2 separate regions of the Homo sapiens genome follow, and region 2 is linked to region 1. The links are contacts of gene promoters, found by promoter capture Hi-C in human tissues and cell types (Jung and others, 2019). All regions are on one chromosome and are shown on one strand. The core of a region is centred on a gene start or on the middle of the fragment in contact, and the rest is flanking DNA. Distances in the headings are between cores, read along the strand shown.

Region 1 (7,388 bases), core at 3,919-6,418:
TTCAAACTTTATGTTTTCAAACCTTGAAGATACACATTTGCTAAGGACAAACCCATGTCTGTAACCTACCTTTAAAACTCCTCTCTCTGAATAGTCTAAATTTATTTAAAAGTTTGCTTAGGTTTTGTGAATGCAAACCACGATATCCACCGTAGGGGCAAAAAGGTGTGATGCCTTTCCTTACAGATGCGACCCTTATAAGGGTCTTACAACAACAAAAAGGGTTAACAAGGGAAAGCATAGCATATTCATTTAATCCAAGTTTTTATAGCATGGAAGTCTTCAGGATGAAGACCCAAACACACAAGTGACACTGTTCGTTGTTAGGCTTAAGTCGACGAAGACTGTACAACAGTATAAAATGTGATTGGATTAATAGGGAAAGATCCCATAGTAATAGACGGTCAGGGGAAACCCAGCGAGGCCTTCAGTTTGAGTTCTCCATGGCCCCTCTGTGTGGCAATTCTTGCTTCTGGGTATAGGGCCCAATCCCTCTGGAATATGGATCTGAGGACCTATTATCAGACAGGGTATATCCTGGAATTTCTTTATGGCCAGCTCCTACAAAGAAAGGCCCAGGGGGGAAGGTAGAGCTATATTTTAGGTTTTATGGCTGTTTGGGGGCAGAGGTATTTCACTTTCTGGGACCTGCCTGGGGGAAGAAGAATTCTAGTTTCTATGGTGCCTTAAGGGAGAAAGGAGAGCAGGAGAAAGTAGAGTGGGAGAAGGTCAAACAGATCTCGCTTCTGAGGCCCTTTTGGTTTCCTTCAGTTCAAAGGACTCAGCATATCAAGGCACCACAGTTTGGAACATCGTATTCTGGGTCCCAACAATATTCAAGCGAACACAGGAGTGGTAAACGTACTGGGGCTACGTAATGAAGGCGGATCTATTAGGATTGCATGGGAAGAGGCTTCAGCTGTGTAGTGATGCATGGGTAGGATTTGCATAGGAAGAGGGTCTGGGTAAAGGCATTCCTGGTGAATTCCTGGCACCACTACTTCTAGGTGGGTAGGGAATCAGAAAGAAGGGTGTTGGGGAATAATTGAATATAAGCAGGGGGTTCCAGAAGTTCTGTGTGGGCTCTGGAGCTGTCATTATTTGGGAGATGAGCCTGTGGGCTCATCTTAAGGCAAAACAAGGCTACTGTTTTCACTTCGATTCTTTGCTTACCTGGAGTGGATTTGAGTGGCTGAAGACATTATGGAAAGACATGAAGCCTCCCTTCTCTCTCCCAAAATAAACTACTCCCTCTTTGGTGAAACAACTGAAATCAGGAGGACAGACCAGGAGCACTACAGAGTACCACAGGAGTGCTACAAAGCAATGTACCCTTCTTAATGTATCAGAGAGGGAGCACTGCAAGTTGTAGAGAACAGGAGTGCTGGAACTTAGAATTCCATTCAGTGACCTTACTCCCATTCCAGACTCTGCTCCAGGTTATAGCACAGCGTGCTTCAGCACAGAGCTACCTCTGAGAGCTAGCATACAGAGTGGGTGAGTGGGAGAGGCCCCAGGGTGCCTGGGGAATCTCAGGCAGGCGACAGGGACATGAACTTGGAAGTTATTTTATGTATGCGGGAATGAGGGCCAGACCCAGGCAGTGGGAATTAGGGCAATGAGAATGAGGAATAGACATGAGAGATACTGCCAGTTGGTTGATGTTTGTCATGCATTTAGAAAATGCAAAGTTAGGCCGGGCATAGTGGCTCATGCCTGTAATCCCAGCACTTTGGGAGGCCGAGGTGGGTGGATCGCCTGAGGTCAGGAGTTTGAGACCATCCAGGGCAACATGGTGAAACCCCGTCTCTACTAAAAATACAAAAAATTAACCAGGTGTGGTGGCACGCACCTGTAGTCCCAAATACTTGGGAGGCTGAGGCAGAAGAATCGCTTGAGCCCCAGAGGTGAAGGTTGCAATGAGCCGAGATTATGCCACTGCACTCCAGCTTGGGCCACAGAGTGAGATTCCATCAAAACAGAAAGAAAAGAAAAAGAAAAAGAAAGAAAGAAAAGAAGGAAAGAAACAAAGAAAGAAAGAAAGAAAGAAAGAAAGAAAGAAAGAAAGAAAGAAAATGCAAAATTAAATAGACTGCAATGTATACAAGCCATGAAGTGAATAGAAGGCTAGAAGGAGAAGCATATAAAATGAATGACAGTGGCACCTCTGAGAAGAAGCTGGGGTGCAGGATGGGTGATTTTTCACACTCTTCTTATATTCATATCATTTGAACGTTTTCAGTGAAATGATATTCACCTTATCACTTAGGTGGTACATTTTGTGAAAGGCAGAATGAAGAATGGTGTTGAAGCACAGGCAACTCAGGTCTCCAGGGCAGAAGGGTTGGCCTAAGGGCAAGGCAGCAATGGTATGGTTTTCCTCACCACCACCCATGGGGAAGCCCAGTGCTGGTGCCTGCTCATGTCTAGCAGACAGCCATCCTCCTGTCTTAGTTCACCTTTCACAGCTGGGTTTAGGGGCCTCTAGAGCACAGGAGTGCCAGCCAGTTGTAGCCCTTGTACTTAGGGTAGAGCCAGCAGACACTTACCTTGACAGGATCTGTGAAAACCCATCTTTATGCTGTATAGTTCCCTTTTTTTTCAACACTTTCCTCCATGGCAGAAAACCACAACAACTTGAAATGAGACACTTCACCACCTGTGCTTTCTTCAAAGTGTACACGAGGACAGATTGTTGAGCCACTGGTGGGGCGATCTGATCATATTACTCTGATTTTTCTAAAGCTCTTCTTCCTTTGCTGAAAGACTGGAAGCTCACAACTCTGGCTGGGCATCTTCAGTTCCCCATATGCATACACACACACAGACACACACACACACACACACACACACACACACGCTTCTCTCCTCTTTGAACGTCTTTGGATTCTGCAGAGCAGATTTGTCCTATGATGTCATAAACTGTGAAGTCTTCAACCCTCAGGTTGGTTTTCTAAGTAGGCTTTGTTATGAGCAGTACCAGACTAAGTGGTATTTGCACACACATAGTGTCTTTGGTTCTTATGGCTCTGGGTGTGTGTGTGTCTGTGTGTGTGAGGGAGGAGTAGGGGAAGAGATACAACACTCCTGGGGAAGGGAGTGCAATTGCTAGTATCACATAAAAAGTATGAAAACTTTTCCAAGAATTAGGGAGGAATACGATTTGGCAGAAAAGTAAAGTCATATCCAATTCAATCAACCTTGAATGAATTTAAAGGTGCTCCTTGTAGTTAGGACGCCAGTGCTGAGGCTCAGTCATTGCTAGCTTTTAATATTAGACATAGCATCTGGGTGCGGTGGCTCACACCTGTAATTCTAGCACTTTGGGAAGCCAAGGCAGGCAGATCACTAGAGGTCAGGAGTTCGAGACCAGCCTGGCCAACATGGTGAAACCTCGTCTCTTCTAAAAATACAAAAATTAGCTGGGCGTAGTGGCAGTCCCCTGTAATCCCAGCTACTTGGGAGGCTGAGGCAGAAGAATTGCTTTAACCCGGGAAGTGCAATGAGCTGAGATTGCACCACTGCACCGCAGCCTAGGCCACAGAGCAAGACTCTGTCTCAAAAAAAAAAAAAAAAAAAAAAATTAGGCATAGAATCTAAGAATAAATTTAACCTGAAATTTATAAGTGTATATAAAATAAGATGCAAAACCATGTTTTACATCTCTCCAAGAAATCTTTGTTCTATTTTATAGGTGAGCACAAAGATTTTCTTTACATAATTTTTTATCAGAAACAAAAAGATTGAAAATAGTCCAAACATCTATGTCCTGTGTCAAAAAAAAAAAAAGGAAAAAAGAAAGAAAAAGAAAAATTAGGTTTGTCCTCATGAACATGGCTCTACAGACTTTTTAAAAAAATAAAGTCTGAACAAGGAGCAGAGTGAATAGGCCGAATTTTTTTTTTTTTTTTTTTTTTTTGGACAGAGTTTTGCTCTTGTTGCCCAGGCTGGATTGCAATGGCGCAATCTCAGCTCACTGCAATCTCCACCTCCCGGGTTCCAGCAATTCTCCTGCCTCAGCTTCCCGAGCAACTAGGATTACAGGCATGTGCCACTACGCCCGGCTAATTTTGTATTTTTAGTGGAGATGGGGTTTCTCCATGTTGGTCAGGCTGGTCTCGAACTCCCGACCTCAGGTGATCCACCCATCTCAGCCTCCCAAAGTGCTGGGATTACAGGTGTGAGCCACCGTGCCTGGCCAATTTTTACTGGAGTAAGGATGTTGATACCATCAAGCCTCACACTTCTGCTGAGATTATCAACTGTAGTTTTCCAATGTTGGTCTACAGGTGGGGACCATTCTGTAATATAGTTTCCCCACTCTGTGTTGATGTGAGGAAAATAAGAATAATAAAGTTTTATTGCTGGCTTTGAGGGAGAAGGGTTCTATGACCCGCCTTGGGGAAGAGAAATTCTAGCTTCTGTGGCCTGCCTTGAGAGAAGTGGAGCAGGAGAAAGACGGGCAGGAGAAAGCAAGAAAGAGACTTTGCTTTTGCAGCCTTTTTAATGTCTTTCAGTTCAAAGTACTCGGCATGCCAAAGAGCCATATTTGGGGCTATCTTTTTCTGTGCCAAACCAACAACACCAAACCAGAAAGAAGCAAGCATAGGGAATCCAGGGCTTCACTCAACCCATCCCTTCCTATGCTTTTCCTCTATCTCCACCCTGGGAGCAATTTTCTTTTACAGAACTAATGCAACTGAGCAGAGAAAGGCTGGCCTGTCCAGAGAGCAGATAGGACGCCCATATTTTATTTTCAGTTGTGCCAATGTCCTGCATGGGACTCCTGGAACTCACTGGATGCCCCTGTGCATGAGCTTCTTAGGCATGTAATAGAATTAACAGCAGTCTGCTTCTATGCAGGTAGGTATCCTGCAAAGAAACTTTGTATGAAATGTGTCTGCACATTGTACTCATTCTTGCATTGTTTACCCATGTAGTGACCTTCAAAAATGGCTTTGCAAAAGTCACAGGGGAATAACCGAGTTAGTAGGCACTTGTTTCCCCTCCTTCATCAGATTCTGCTCTGATTTGCTACATAAAGTTGTATAATCACCTGGAAATATGCACTGTGCTGCCACGTGATTTTCAAATGCAAATGAGCAGGTTAACAACCCCAGTGTTGCAATGTTCTAGCTGTAAATATGTTTGGATAACCCAGCAGAGCCATTTAACCTTTGGGAACAAGGCAACTAGCGTCTGGCAGCAGGAATCCAACCAGTGCCCTGAGTTCTGAGGCAGAGAGGAGGACAGAAGAAACAAGAGGCTGGAGATTGTCAAATTCAGTATCCCAGTTGGCTCTTGATTCTTGGTGAAACCATCCCTCAGCTCCTAGAGGGAGATTGTTAGATCATGAAACTAATTACCATCCTTTTCCTCTGCTCCAGGCTGCTACTAAGTTTAACCCAGGAATCACAGTCCGAGGAAATTGACTGCAATGACAAGGATTTATTTAAAGCTGTGGATGCTGCTCTGAAGAAATATAACAGTCAAAACCAAAGTAACAACCAGTTTGTATTGTACCGCATAACTGAAGCCACTAAGACGGTGAGTGAATTGTGTTTAACCTTGAAGTCACTTGGGATTTGTACTATCACTAGGAGTCCAGGCCTCACACACACACACACATACCACCACCAGCACCCACCACCACCACCCACCACCCACCACCATCACCCACCACCACCACCACAACCACCACCACCACCCACCACCACCACCACCATCCACCACCACCCACCACCCACCACCACCCACCACCATCACCCACCACCCACCACCCACCACCACCCACCATCATCACCCACCACCACCCACCACCATCACCCACCACCCACCACCACTCGCCACCATCACCCACCACCATCACCCACCACCCACCACCCACCACCACCAACCACCACCATCCACCACCACCAACCACCACCCACCACCACTACCACCCCTCACCACCCACCACCACCGCCACCCACCACCCACCACCATCACCCACCACCACCACCATCCACCACCACCACCCAACCACCACCACCCACCACCCACCACCATCACCCACCACCCACCACCACCCACCACCCACCACCCACCACCATCACCCACCACCTACCACCCACCACCCACCACCACCACCACCCACCACCACCCACCACCCACCACCACCACCACCCACCACCACCCACCACCACTACCACCCCTCACCACCCACCACCACCGCCACCCACCACCCACCACCATCACGCACTACCAAATATGTGATCATCAAAGGTAGAAGCTTACAACTTGTGGAAAGACAGATACCACTCTCTGGCCTGGGGTGGGAGGACAGAGTATGACTCGTCCTCAGGCAGGTTGGCTTCCTGGATGATCAGAGAAGTAGAATCTAGGGTGAAATGAAACAAAAGTAGATGGAGAAATCTCAACAGGACCAAGTAGAGAGGGAGAATTTAGGAATTTAGTTAGACTGCAGCAAAAGAATTCACTGGGTCTCTGGCCCTAGGCTAAAAACTATAGAACTCCAAACCTTTAATGGGAGGGGGTACTTCATGGGGCATGTCTAAGAGGAGTGAGGAATGAGGTTAATGTGATTCTACGGAATTAGACAGAAGTCTGTATGGCTGAATGTACTGGGTTTAACAGCAACGTTTTAGTTAGTTTTTGATATTATTGCAATGATGCACTCCAGCAGGAGACAAATCCTGGCAGGATGCATGGTTCAAAGAAATACCAATCTTTCAAGAGTATGTTTAAACAAATTTCACTATAAAAGACTATATCTCTGGGAATGTCAAGCAATTGGTTACTTTAGCAGAAAAAAAAAAACTAGCCATGTGACAACATGGGGATAAAGGAAAATAAACACAGTGGACATGTTATTTTTTCTGAAAGTAAAATCGAGCCATTTTCTTTCATAATCTAGTACAGTCATGTGAGAAATTCTGCTTCATGGTGATCTCAAGCAACAGTTTATTGGTGGTGTGGTACCCAATAGATTGTGGGTATGGTTGTAAATATACTAAAAAACATTAAATTGTATGCCTTTAGTGGGTAAATTTTATGGCATGTAAATTATATCTCAATAAAGCTGTTTAAAAAAGAAAAAGTAGGAAACAAAATAAACCAAATAAAAGTACTAAAATCACCCATAATTAATTCCACCATACAGAGATAACTGTTAACATTTGTTTAAGGTTTTCTTGTTTGCTTTTTCTAATTTGTAAAAGTCATATACGTTCATTAGGGGAAAAAGACCACTTAGAAATGTTTGCTTGGGCCGGGCGCGGTGGCTCATGCCTGTAATCCCAGCACTTTGGGAGGCCAAGGCGGGGGGATCACGAAGTCAGGAGATCGAGACCATGGTGAAACTCAGTCTCTACTAAAAAATACAAAAA
Region 2 (6,588 bases), core at 1,071-3,570, 60 kb before region 1:
AAAAAAAAATTTCTGTTCACTTTTACTTACACTTTCAAGCATCTGGCAATGCTGACTTTGCTTGCTCTTCAGATTTTTTCAAGGAGATTGTGTCCCACAGCCTCCAGGTTTTTCTTCTAGCTTTCTGACCACTCCCCCTCATATCCCACCTTGGGCTCCTCTTCTCTGGCTCATCTCTTAGATGCTGTTTCTCTGGCTTTCAGTCCTTGATCTTTTTTTCTTACTCTGCAGACTCAGTGCAGACAAGCTAATCTGCATCCTTGTCAATAGTTGCAAAATGCTGCATTTATTACTGATCTGAGGCTGTTGTGTTCAAGTCATCAGTAGTTTGCAAATTGCTAACACTAATCTTCTACGACAAAATTTCAGGAGCTGAGTATTTCTAGTTATACAATATTAAGAGTTACCTCAGCTGAATGTTTAAAAAGAACATATTCAACAATAGGAAAATGAGCAACCCAATTTAAAAATGGGCAAAACATTTAAAAAAAATGAGATCGTGTCTTTCGCAGGAACATGGATGGAGCTGAAGGTTATTATCCTTAGCAAACTAATGCAGGAACAGAAAACCAAATATCGCATGCTCTCACTTATAAGTGGGAGCTAAATAATGAGAACACATGGACACATAGAGGGAAACAACACACACTGGGACCTACTCAAGGGTGGAGGGTGGGAGGAGGGAGAGGGTCAGAAGAAAATGACTGTTTGGTAGTAGGCTTAGTACTTGCCTGACAAATAATCTGTACTACAAACCCCTGCGACATGAGTTTACCTATATAACAAATGTGCACATGTACCCATTAACTTAAGATAGAAGTTAAAAAAAATAAAAATAAAAATGGGCAAAAGATTTAAACCTCACCAAAAAAAAAAAAAAGGTAAGTGAACATCTGAAATTCTGAACTTCAGTGAACTTCATATGTCATCAAAGAAATGCAAATTATAACAACGAGATATCACTACATATCCGTCAGAATGGCCAAAATCCAGAACACTGACAATACTAAATGGTAGCAAGGATATGGAGCAAAAGGAACTTCTCATTCATTGCTGCTGGGAATGCAAATGGTACAGCCACTTTGGAAGACAGTTTGGCAGTTACTTTCAAAACTTAACATACTCTTATCATATGCTCCAGTAGTCACACTCCTTGGTATTTACCCAAATGATCTGAAAACTTATGTCCATAGAAAAACCCACACATGAATATTCACAGCACATCTGCTCATAATTGCTAAAATTTGGAAGCAACAAACTGTCCTTCACCAGGTGAGTGGATAAGTAAATCCTGACAATGGAATATTATTTGGCACGAAAAAGGAATATGAATATCGAGCCACAAAAAGACATGGAGGAAACTTAAATACATATTACTGAGTGAAAGAAACCAATCTGAAAAGATTAACTACTGTATGGTTCCAACTATATGACATTTGGAAAAGGCAAAATTATGAAGACAGTAAAAAGATCACTGGTTGCCAGTGGTTAGCAAGGAGACAGGGATGGACTATGTGGAGCACAGAGGATTTTTAGTCAGTGAAACTATTCTGTATGCTACTACAATGGTGGATACATTTCATTATACATTTGTCAAAACCCATAGATGTACAACATCAAGGATGCATGCTGATGTAAGCCATGGACTTTAGGTTATAACTATGTGTCAGTGTAAGTTCATCGGTTGTAACAAATGTGCTGCTAGTGTTCAGAGGTTTATAGCAGGGGAGGCTGTGAGCGTGAGGGGCAGATGTAGGGACTACATAGGAACTCTATACTCGCCACTCAGCTGTACTGTCAACCTAAAACTGCTCTAAAAATTAAAGCCCATTTTTAAAGTAAATTAACAAAATGGATACATTAAGCCTGATAAAAACTGCATTTTCTTTAAAAAGTGACTCCTATTACAAAAAAATTAAATGTCATAAAATTCTGTCAACCAGTCTAGTGATTCTCAAAGACATAGTCAGAGATTTACAAAGAGGTCCACTGTAGCATTACTTATAAGAACAAATAATTGGAAACAATATACATGGCCAAAAATTGGGGAATGTTGAATACATTAACACGTACATAACATCCAATATTATGTAACCTCAAAAATAATCTTTCTGAAGAATATTTAATGATCTGAGAAAGTCCTCATGGTATAACCTTAAGGGAAAATACAATATTTAAGCCATATATAACAAGGGATTTTTAAAAGTCCTTCTCTTGGGAAAGAGTTTGGGAGGTAAAGAATGGAGGAAAGAGACTTAATTTTTATTTTACAATATTCTAAAATATTGTTTGCTTTTTTACTTTGTGCAGGGATTGTGTTTATGACTAAAAACTGTATACTTAAAATAACAAAATTTTAAAATCCTATAAAAACACAAAAACATTTATAAAGCTTATATGGTTTCTATTAATACCTGAAAAAAATAGAGGTTATAAGTAAATACATGCTCAACTACAGTGGAGGGAAAGAAACACCTGTATGTACAGAATAATTCTAATGATGCAAAACATATATATTACATATATTCAAATAGCAAAAAGTGTATGAAGCAATTATGCATTATAAATAGTTGGTTTTCCTTATGGTTGTAGAATTAGAGGTGAATTTTCTTTATGCTTTTCGTATTTTCCATATTTTTTGCAAAAAGCATGTGTTCTATTATGAGTCAAAAAGGTTTAAAGAATAAAAATTCTGTTAGCTAACTCTTTTTTCTGATACAATGGTCAGGACACACAGAAATAACCTAAATGCAGAATGAAAATGTGAAGACGGCAGGGCGCAGTGGCTCATTCCTATAATCACACCACTATGGGAGGCTGAGGCGGGTGGATCACCTGAGGTCAGGGGTTCGAGATCAGCCTGACCAATATGGTGAAACCTTGTCTCTACTAAAAGTACAAATTTTAGCCAGGCGTGGTGGTGGGCACCTGTAGTCCCAGTACTCAGGAGGATGAGACAGAAGAATTGCTTGAAACTGGGAGGTGGAGGTTACAGCAGTGAGCTGAGATGGCACCACTATACAACAACCTAGGCAACAGAGCAGGTGAGACTTTGTCTCAAAAAAAAAAAAAGAAAGAAAAGAAAAGGTAAAGATGAAGATTCTACCTGCCCAGTCTGCCCAGATAGTGTCAGGCCTCTGAGCCTAAGCTAAGCCATCATATCCCCTGAGACCTGCACATACACATCCAGATGGCCGGTTCCTGGCTTAACTGATGACATTCCACTACAAAAGAAATGAAAATGGCCTGTTCCTGCCTTAACTGATAGCATTATCTTGTGAAATTCCTTCTCCTGGCTCATCTTGGCTCAAAAGCTCCCCTACTGAGCACCTTGTGACCCCTACTCCTGCCTGCCAGAGAACAACCCCTCTTTTTCCTTTACGTACCTAAATCCTATAAAATGGCCCCACCCCATCTCCCTTCACTGACTCTTTTTGGACTCAGCCCACCTGCACCCAGGTGATTAAAAGATTTATTGCTCAGACAAAGCCTGTTTGGTGGTCTCTTCACACGGACACACATGAAATTTGCTGCCGTGACTCGGATCAGGGGAACTCCCTTGGGAGATCAATCCCTAGTCCTCCTGTTCTTTGCTCCGTGAGAAAGATCCACCTACGATCTCAGGTCCTCAGGCTGACCAGCCCAAGAAACATCTCACCAATTTCAAATCCCGTGAACAGCCTCTTTTTACACTCTTCTCCAACCTCCCTCACTATCCCTCAACCTCTTTCTCTGTTCAATCTTGGTGCCACACTTCAATCTCTCCCTTCTCTTAATTTCAATTCCTTTCATTTTCTGGTAGAGACAAAGGAGACATGTTTTATCCATGGACCCAAAACTCCAATGCCGGTCGTGGACTAAGAAAGGCAGCCTTCCCTTGGTGTTTAATCATTGTGGGGATGCCTCTCTGATTATTCACTCAGGTTTCAGAGGTGTCAGACCACGCAAGGACACCTGCCTTGGTCTTTCACCCTTAGCGGCAAGTCCCGCTTTTCTAGGGGAGGGGCAGGAACCCCGACCTCTTATCTCTGCACCCCGATCCCTTATTTCCATGCCCCAACCTCTTATTTCTGTGCCCCGATCCCTTATTTCCGTGCCCCGACCTCTTATCTCTGCGCCTCAACCCCTTATTTCCGTGCCCTGACCCCTTCTCTGCTTTTCTGGAGGGCAAGAACCCCCCAACCCTTCTCCATGTCTCTACTCTCTTTTCTCTGGGCTTGCCTCCTTCACTATGGGCAAGCTTCCACCTTCCATTCCTCCTTCTTCTTCCTTAGCCTGTGTTCTCAAGAGCTTAAAACCTCTTCAACTCTCACCTGACCTAAAATCTAAGCGTCTTATTTTCTTCTGCAATGCCGCTTGACCCCAATACAAACTCGACAGTACTTCCAAATAGCCAGAAAACAACACTTTCAATTTTTCCATCCTATAAGATCTAAATAATTCTTGTCGTAAAATAGGCAAACGGTCTGAGGTGCCTGATGTCCAGGCATTCTTTTACATATCGGTCCCTCCCTGGTCTCTGTTCCCAATGCAACTCGTCCCAAATCTTCCTTCTTTCCCTCCCGCCTGTCCCCTCAGTCCCAACCCCAAGCGTTGCTGAGTCTTTCCAGTCTTCCTTTTCTACAGACCCATCTGACCTTTCCCCTCCTCCCCAGGCTGCTTGTCACCAGGCCGAGCTAAGTCCCAATTCTTCCTCAGCCTCTGCTCCTCCACCCTATAATCCTTCTACCATCTCCCCTCCTCACAGCCGTTCCGGCATACAGTTTAGTTCTGTGACTAGTTCTTCCCCACCTGCCCAACAGTTTCCTCTTAGAGAGGTGGCTAGAGCTGAAGGCATAGTCAGGGTACATGTACCTTTTTCTCTATCACGCCTCTCTCAGATCAGTCAGTGTTTAGGCTCTTTCTCATCAGACCCCACTAAATGTATACAGGAATTCTGATATCTAACTCTGTCCTACAAGTTAACCTGGAGTGACTGAAATGTCATCCTAACTTCTACCCTCTCCCCAGATGAACGGGAAAGAGTTTTTTCTCTAGCCCAATCTCACGCTGATAACCGCCGGCTTCACGAGCCAGACCTCCAGGAAGGCATTAGAGCAGTTCCCCGAGAAGATCCCCAATGGAACTATCAGACAAATTCCCCAGGTATAGCTAGGTGAGATTACATGATTCCTGCCTACTTGAAAGGCTTAAAAAGGCAGCTTACAAAGCTGTTAATTATGACAAGCTTGAAGAGACTACCCAAGGTAGAGACGAAAACCCAGCCCAGTTCATGGCCGGCTTAGCAGCAACCTTTGGACGCTATACCGCCCTAGACCCAGAAGGGCCAGAAGGCCGCCTTATTCTTAACATGCATTTTATCATCCAATCCACTCCTGACATTAAGAAAAAACTTCAAAAATTAGAATCTAGCCCTCAAACCCCACAACAGGAATTAATCAATCTTGCCTTCAAGGTGTACAATAATAGAGAAGAAGCATCCAGACGGCAACGCGTTTCTGAGTTACAATTACTTGCCTCTGCTGTGAGACGAGACCCAGCCACACCTCCAGCATAGGAGAACTTCAAAATGCCTCAGCCGCACACGCCTAAGCCGCAGCAGTCAAGCATTCCTACAGGACTTCCTGCATCAGGATCTTGCTTCAAGTGCCAGAAATCTAGCCACTAGGCCAAGGAATGCCCACAGCCCAGGATTCCTCCTCAGCCGTATCCCATCTGTGTAGGACTCCACTGAAAATCAGACTCTTCAACTCACCTGGCAGCCACTCCCAGAGCCCCTGGAACTCCGGCCCAAGGCTCTCTGACTGACTCCTTCTCACATTTTCTCAGCTTAGCAGCTGAAGACTGACGCTGCCCGATCGCCTTGGAAGCCCCGTAGGCCATCACGGACGCCAAGCTTGAAGTAACTCTCAGAGTAGAAAGTAAGTCCGTCCCCGTCTTAATCAATACGGAGGCTACCCACTCCACATTACCTTCTTTCCAAAGGCCTGTTTCCTTTGCCTTCATAACTGTTGTAGGTATTGGCAGCCAGGCTTCTAAACCTCTTAAAACTCCCCAACTCTGGTGCCAACTTAGACAGTACTCTTTTAATCACTCCTTTTAGTTACCCCCACCTGCCCAGTTCCCTTATTAGGCCGAGACACTTTAACTAAATTATCTGCTTCCCTGACTATTCCTGGGCTACAGCCACACCTCATTGCCGCCTTTTCCCCCAGTTCAAAGCCTCCTTCACATCCTCCCCTTGTATCTCCCCACCGTAACCCATAAGTATAAGACACCTCTACTCCCTCCTTAGCGACCGATCATGCACCCCTTACCATCCCATTAAAACCTAATCACCCTTACCCCAATCAATGCCAATATCCCATCCCGCAGCATGCTTTGAAAAGATTAAAGCCTGTTATCACTCGCCTGTTACAGCAAGGCCTTTTAAAGCCTATAAACTCTTCTTACCATTCCCCCATTTTACCTGTCCTAAAACCAGACAAGGCTTACAGGTTAGTTCAGAATCTGCGCCTTATCAACCAAATTGTTTTGCCTAGCCACCCCATGGTGCTAAACCCATATACTCTCCTATCCTCAATACCT

Evidence for each region. Contacts are between HindIII fragments. The study calls those that stand out against the background at their distance.
Region 2: a fragment that was not itself captured here is called in contact with the fragment with the promoter of KNG1 in region 1 in 1 of the 25 tissues and cell types used here (neural progenitor cells).

The regions. Positions count from the first base shown.
Region 1 is chr3:186,712,191-186,719,578 of GRCh38, forward strand. It overlaps KNG1 (kininogen 1), which reads left to right and starts at 5,169. Exons shown (of 10, transcript NM_001102416.3): 1 at 5,169-5,547. The coding sequence starts at 5,353. The HindIII fragment of the contact is 15,967 bases long and covers 1-7,388 here.
Region 2 is chr3:186,654,647-186,661,234 of GRCh38, forward strand. All of the region lies in intron 1 of HRG-AS1 (HRG and FETUB antisense RNA 1), which reads right to left. Among named protein-coding and RNA genes, the nearest start is that of HRG-AS1, 7.7 kb to the right of the region's middle. RefSeq lists an enhancer at 2,981-3,500. The HindIII fragment of the contact is 4,825 bases long and covers 1-4,733 here.